Linked DNA regions of Homo sapiens: region 1 is linked to region 2. Evidence: promoter capture Hi-C in human tissues and cell types (Jung and others, 2019). All regions are on one chromosome and are shown on one strand. Each heading gives the region's core, a stretch centred on a gene start or on the middle of the fragment in contact. The rest is flanking DNA. Distances are from core to core; before and after follow the strand shown. Region 1 holds the start of LOC105377724 (a long non-coding RNA gene). Region 2 holds the start of FGF18 (fibroblast growth factor 18).

Region 1 (3,438 bases), core at 815-3,314, 320 kb after region 2:
ATTCGGTCCTGAAAGCAGATCCATTTCCACAGAATGGCTGTGGGTCCTTCCAAACCTGCGATTCCCAAGTGGTCAGGGTAGTTGGGCAATGAAATATGAACTCAGCTTCCAGTTGCTGAACGCATGCATCCAGTTTGAATGTGGATTTCTGCAATTCGGTTGACAAAAGAGTGTGTGATAGGGTTTCTTTTTCCTGCACTCTCAACTACAGATTTACTCAGATGTCTTTTCACATCATTAAGAAAGTACAAAGCTGGGCGTGGTGGCTCACACTTGTAATGCCAGCACTTTGAGAGGCCAAAGCGGGAGGATTGCTTGAGCCCAGGAGTTCGAGGCCAGCCTGGGCAACATGGTGAAAACCCAACTCTACAAAATAAAAAATAGAAAATTAGCTGGGCGTGGTGGCATGCCTATAGTCCCAGCTACTTGGGAGGCGGAGGCGGGAGGATCACTTGAGCCCAGGAGATCAGGGCCGCAGTGAGCTATGATCACACCACTGCATTCCAGCCTGGATGACAGAGTGAGACCCTGTCTCGAAAAAAGAGAATAAAGAAAAAAATAAAGTATAGTTATGAGGAGTCACTGGAGAGGCGGTTGGGGCATGAAGGCTGGGGGATTGTTCAACAGGTCAGGCCTCTTGGAGGTTCTAAAATCTCAAAATTCTTGGATTTGAGGAATTCCAAAATTTCCCCCAGAAAGCTGCATAAAAGTAAATGGGTTCTTCATACGCAGCTCAAACTTCTCTCAAATATCCCCAAACTGACAATAGAAAGGCACAAATATGAAAGAACTCACCATTTCCATGGATTTCCTCTGCCCTCACATCTTGCAATGAATCTCATCTGTGGAATTCACAGCACAGACCTTTCTGATACTTGAAGGATGAAAGGAGAATCTGGTGGCCTCATTTTCTGACTCAAGGAAAGGGTTAAAACCATTTTTCCTTTTCCCTGCAGGTGCCCCCTCTGGGGCAAATGAACTCAGCTTTTCCATGTTTAGAACAAAGGCCTCAAATTCCTTCCTGGCAGGTGTTCATGTATGTGAGCAAATTAGATTTTGAAAGTCTTTTTTGCCACAAGTCTCAGGCCATCAATGTAGGCTGTATGTTGGAAGTCCCAGGCTAGCCAGCGCCACCTCTCCGAGGCACTGCAAGCTGGAGCAGAAGAAAAAGGCAAGTAAGAAAACATGGAATTCAGAATCAGAAAAGCCTGGCTTCAAATTCCAGCATTGCCACTCTGCAGCTGGGCAACTTTTGACACATCACCCAGCTCCCTGAGCCTCAGTGTCCTCATTTGGAAAACAGGGATAATAACGCTTTCCTCACCGGGGTGTTTGAGGATCTGACAAGATGTCACATGTCAAGTGTCTGGCTCTTACTTAGTATTTAATAAGTGGTTGTGTGTTATGCTGGGTTCTTGATTGCAAGCCATGTGGTAATCAAGTGGAATTTATTGGAAGGCTATCAGGGGCTCATAGAATTGGCAGAGAAGAGTGATGAAGTCTGGAAAATGGCCAGAAACCAAGGGCTTGCCAGAGAGTTAAGCAACAGGGGCCTTAGCAAGGTCACGAGAATGGGTGGCCAGCACGCCACCGCTGCCGCTGGCCTGGAGAGCCTCCAGCCGCTCCTCCCGGCCCCAAATCACTCACTCAAGGGTCCAAGTCCTGGAGGGAACATGTGGCTACCCTAGCCTGGATTATGTGCATACCGTTTGGTTGCAGCTGGAGAAGAGAGGGGGAGAACTGGGTGTTTGTGCTTCTGTGTAAGGGGCAAGTTCATCACCCACTGTGCCGTGATGGCACACAATGGAGGGTGGGTCTCCATAGGGAATGGAAGTGCTGCTGGCCACTGAACAGTCCCAAGCCCACAAATGCTCACCACAAACGTTACTATTTAAATCCAGAAGAGAAGGCAGGTGCTTCTTGATAAAACCAGGGCAGAGTTACATGGTGTGGAGGAAAAGGGTGGGCTTGAGTTTCTGGCAAGCTCCATATGTAAGGGTTAAAATCACCTGAGGTGAGGGACTCTAAGAGGCGCAGTGCTCAAACCTCCACTTGTACTGACTGTGTGACCTTGAGCAAGTGATTTCAGCTCTCTGAGCTTCCGAGCTCTGAAGGCCCAGTTAGATGATACACCTAGAACACGCCTGGAACGAGAGCGGGTACATGGCAAACACTAAGGAAGATCTAGCTACGGTGATTGCAGTGTCTTCTGTTTAGAGAAGAGGACTGGCTTCTCCTGCACCTGAGGCCTGGAGGGTAAAGCAGAGGAGCAGAAGCAATAAACATGGGTAAGTGAGACTGATGTGTCTGGGGAAGTAAACAGCTTTCTCAGAGAGGCTCAGCCCCCTGTTAAGGGAGCTGAGTCCAAGCTCCTCTGGGGCTTCCAGCAATAACACACTGTTATGAGCAACTCCACGAGCCTGGGGCATGAATTTCTCGCCTAACATAAAGATGTCTCTGAACCTAAAATACTCCCCCAAATCACACTCAGTTCTGTCCTCGGAGGTTTTCCAGGGACATTGAGCAACTTACCTATTTTGCAGCTCGGAGCTTCCCCATCCCACCCACTCGTGACTCTGCTGAAATGTCACAGGAATCTCCTGCCCAGCTTCTTGTAACCCGAGAGTTGCCAAGGGCAGCTACCCTACGGAAAGAGATTCTGGTTCAGAGAAAATATTCTAGACAGAGCCGACATACATGTCTCTTTCTTTTTTCTGGAAGATGATTTTCCACAGTGAGCCACAAGATCCTTTTTCTAAATGAGAAAATAACAGCTTGCATGTAGCAATTGAGAGTCATCTACCCCTTATTAACCCGCAGCATTAATTAATTACTTATTCTACATGGCTCACTATCTTACACACCCTTTGAGGGATGATGGGGAAACACCAAACAAACGTAGGATTTGGTTGTCACTCATTTTCTCCAGGGTTCCAGGTTTCCCACCTTCACTGATTCCCAACAACATAACACAGTGTTACCTTATCGCATCCTCATCACATCCTCCTAGAAACCCTTGATTGGCTTTCCATTACCTTCAGGGGCCTCTTAGCACCACGTACAGTCTTCCAGGCCTGGCACCTGCCCACTTCTCCAGTCTTTCTTCTTTCCCCATCCCTCACGTCTTCTACTCTCCAGCCATTCGCTCATTCACTTTCCATTCATTCATTCTTCAAATGCGTACTGGGCAGCCACTCCAAGTCAGATGCTGTGTTAGCTGCTAGAACCACAGTGCACAGTGGGGGGACAAGACAAACAAGAGCCTTTCTCTTAAGAAGCTTACATGCCAGGGAATGTAAATAACAATGAGAGAAAGAAAGAGATGAGAGCATTTCTTTCTTTCTGTGAAAAGTGTTGCTAGGAGAATGCCACAGGGCGATGTGATTGAGAGTGAATGGAAGAGGCCGTGTGCCTTTAATTGGGTGGCCAGGGAAGGAA
Region 2 (3,410 bases), core at 494-2,993:
CAAGTAATAAAAAATAGTAACAATATAGAAAATTGGAAGCATGATTCTTAGCCAGGAGATACTTCAAACTAGCAGATGGTAAGCCAAAAACTCCTCGACTGGGTTTGTCAATCTTCCTATAAAGCAAGATCAAAGACGGCGGCAATGACTCGGGTCATCGGTGGGAGCATTTCTGTCCATTTCTATTTATGGTTGGTCATTGCATCCTATCTTGGGATCGATTCATTTTCTCCAGAACTTGGGAAGTTACGAGTAACTCTGCAAGTCCAGCTCTGGCAATCAGAATGTCTAAGTAAATTCAGCTTAAAAGCTTCATGCAGGAATTTTCCCCCTCAGCACCTGGTTTTGAAAAGGTTTTCTGCACTTGTGTCCGATGTTGAAACAGAGGCTATCTGTTTAAAATAGCCTCAGCTTTGAAAGGGAACTTAAAATAGCTTGCAAGGAGGCCTGATATTTGGAACAATTACTAATGTTTTATAGTCATGGCTTCAGCAAATAGCACTGTTCGACAGTCCTACCTCAGTTTATGCTCCAGTGGACCATCAACCATTGCCAACGCAAGGAGGCTTTAACCAAATAGTCCAGATTCCTGAGTTTTGCTTGAGCCTGTCCTCCAGCGTCTTTCTCACTGTGACCTATTTTCCTTAGCATCAGGCTCAAGCAGAGCTTGGCTGACACCAGCTCTAGACAGTGAGGCAGGTACGTGACAAGAACACCTACGTTTTGGGGTTGGTGGGAAGGACAGGAGTTATGCCTCTGGAAGGGGCAGAGGCGGTAAGAACCAGTGTCCTGAATGGGGCCCTGGTTAAAGGAACGAAGCTGCCTAGTATGCAAACGGAGGCAAGTCTTAGTCCGGTTTTGGGAGGAGGCCGGAAGAGGGCCTCAGCGTGGTCGCTGACCAGAGTCCTGCTGGCTGCTCCCCGGCGTGCAGCCGTCCGTGCTGGGGTTGCAGTGACGTCTCGGGGCCGCTTGGTGGTAGCCGTGTGTTTCCAAAGCTGGCTCGCCTACGGGAGAGTCCAGCTGGGATCCCGTGAACCGACCCCAGAGCCCCGGAGGGGGCGAGGGGTGGGAAGGAGAGATGCCCGGGAGCCCCCTTCGCAGCGGCAGGGACGTAAGAAGAGGACGGGGGCTCACTTAAGTGGGTAGCCAGTCAAGAGGGTGGCTGGGAAACTCCACGATCGCAGGGCGGGTAAAAGCGACCCCCATTCAGTGGAGCCGCCCCGGGGCTGGGTTTGACCCGCCCCTCTCGGCTCTCCACTAGAGCGCTGGTGAGTGAGTGCGAGTAGCGAATGTGGGCAGGTGAGGACGTTCCGTACCTAACTGCGTTCTTGGGGAGCATCGCCTGCCCAATTTGGGCAACGTTTGCGCGGAGGAGCGGTCACTGCGCTCGGGCGCAGAGCTCCGACGGCTTCCAGCGCTCACCAGCTTCAGTCTCGCGGGTCCTGCCCCTTTGGAGCTGCCGGTCCCGTCTCCGAGAGTCTGAGCGCCTCCCCTCCAACCCCGAGCCGCCAGGAGAAGGAGGAGGAGGCAGCGAGAGGCCGCGGCAGGCAGGCGAGCAGGCAGGGCCGCCTTTGATGTGGGCTGGGCGCACCCAGGCGAGCTGAGCGCCCGTCCGGCCGCGCCCCGAGGGGGGAGCCCCCAGGCCCCGCATCCTCATTGTGCCGGCTCGGGCCCGGGCCCGCCCCCGGCCCCCCGCCCCCTCGCCGCCCGCGCGTAGAAAACGCCCCGGCCGCCGCCAGTGGTGGGAGGCGGCGATGCGCACGGCCGGAGAGACGCGGAGGAGGAGACATGAGCCGGCGGGCGCCCAGACGGAGCGGCCGTGACGCTTTCGCGCTGCAGCCGCGCGCCCCGACCCCGGAGCGCTGACCCCTGGCCCCACGCAGCTCCGCGCCCGGGCCGGAGAGCGCAACTCGGCTTCCAGACCCGCCGCGCATGCTGTCCCCGGACTGAGCCGGGCAGCCAGCCTCCCACGGACGCCCGGACGGCCGGCCGGCCAGCAGTGAGCGAGCTTCCCCGCACCGGCCAGGCGCCTCCTGCACAGCGGCTGCCGCCCCGCAGCCCCTGCGCCAGCCCGGAGGGCGCAGCGCTCGGGAGGAGCCGCGCGGGGCGCTGATGCCGCAGGGCGCGCCGCGGAGCGCCCCGGAGCAGCAGAGTCTGCAGCAGCAGCAGCCGGCGAGGAGGGAGCAGCAGCAGCGGCGGCGGCGGCGGCGGCGGCGGCGGAGGCGCCCGGTCCCGGCCGCGCGGAGCGGACATGTGCAGGCTGGGCTAGGAGCCGCCGCCTCCCTCCCGCCCAGCGATGTATTCAGCGCCCTCCGCCTGCACTTGCCTGTAAGCGCCCGCGCGCGGGGCTGCCCACCTTGCCTGGCTGTCTGTCCGTATGCCTGTGCCCTGTACCTCTGTCTGCCCGCCCGTCGGTTCACCTGACTCTTCGACTGCGTGTCTGTCTGTCCGTGCGCCCCCTTCCTCAGGTCCCACTGACCGCTTCTCCATCTGTTTCCCGCAGGTGTTTACACTTCCTGCTGCTGTGCTTCCAGGTACAGGTACGTGGGCTCCTGACTTTGACCTCCTCCCGCCCCTGCCTCGCGGTACACGCCGACCCCCCTTCCCCGGCCGCGCCCCCTCCCTGTGCCCCACCCCTCCTGGGCGCTGAGCCCAGTGCACCTGTTCCCAGGGCGCGGAAGGGCGGCTCCGCGTGCGCCCTGCGCCGGCGGGGAACCGGCCAAGGGCAAGGGGCTCTGCCGCGGGGCCCGAGGAGGCGCTGGCTGTCGCGGCCACTGTCGGCCTCGGCTGGGAGGAGATCCCGCAGAGCCGGCGGGCTCAGCCGCAACAATATACCCAGCTCTAAGACCCCTGCCCGCAGCCAGCGAGGGGTAGGACCTAGGGATTTTCTCTGCCAACCTTCCCTTAACATCGCCGCTTCCAAACAAAAAGACTTTCAGCCGAGTGGATTTCGAGTCCAGGGAGAAAGCTTCAGTTGTAAATTACTCTGTGGTTTTGAAGGCGCTTGCAGCACTGAGACACACACACAGACACACACACATGCCCGGGACGAGGGGAAGCTCGAGGGCGCCTAGGCCGAGTGGCCGCTGCCCGCGAGGCCGCTCCCGGATGGGCCGCGCTCCGCACTCCCTCGCCTAAGGTGGTGCAGCCCTCGTTGGTTCCCCGCCTGCTCCCGGTTCGCTCGCTCTCCGTGAATCAGAAGAGGGCTTGGCGCTCGGCCTGGAAAGCACTTGCTAAAATCTGATCTGTTACTTCAGCAGCTTTCAGACTCGGGAAGGTCTTGGCACGCAGACAGTTGGAACGCTCTGGCTTCCAAAGCCGTAGAAATGAAGGAAAAAGGGTTGGGGGGAGGGAGAGAGAAGAGCGAAAAAGGGAGCCGACTTCAGCCCCGATTAGAACCAGACCAGGGC

Evidence for each region. The method cuts DNA at HindIII sites, captures the fragments that hold promoters and counts their contacts. A contact is called where the count stands out against the background at its distance.
Region 1: a contact is called between a fragment that was not itself captured here and the fragment with the promoter of FGF18 in region 2, in 1 of the 25 tissues and cell types used here (H1 embryonic stem cells).

What each region holds. Positions count from the first base shown.
Region 1 is chr5:171,736,182-171,739,619 of GRCh38, forward strand. LOC105377724 (a long non-coding RNA gene) reads right to left here and starts at 1,632. Exons shown (of 5, transcript XR_001742983.2): 1 at 796-1,632; 2 at 1-148. LOC105377723 (a long non-coding RNA gene) reads left to right here and starts at 2,204. Exons shown (of 2, transcript XR_941215.1): 1 at 2,204-2,288. The HindIII fragment of the contact is 7,714 bases long and covers 1-3,438 here.
Region 2 is chr5:171,417,904-171,421,313 of GRCh38, forward strand. It overlaps FGF18 (fibroblast growth factor 18), which reads left to right and starts at 1,744. Exons shown (of 5, transcript NM_003862.3): 1 at 1,744-2,328; 2 at 2,504-2,540. The coding sequence starts at 2,297. RefSeq lists silencers at 1,581-1,690, 1,811-1,920, 2,061-2,110, 2,171-2,250. The HindIII fragment of the contact is 5,522 bases long and covers 1-3,410 here.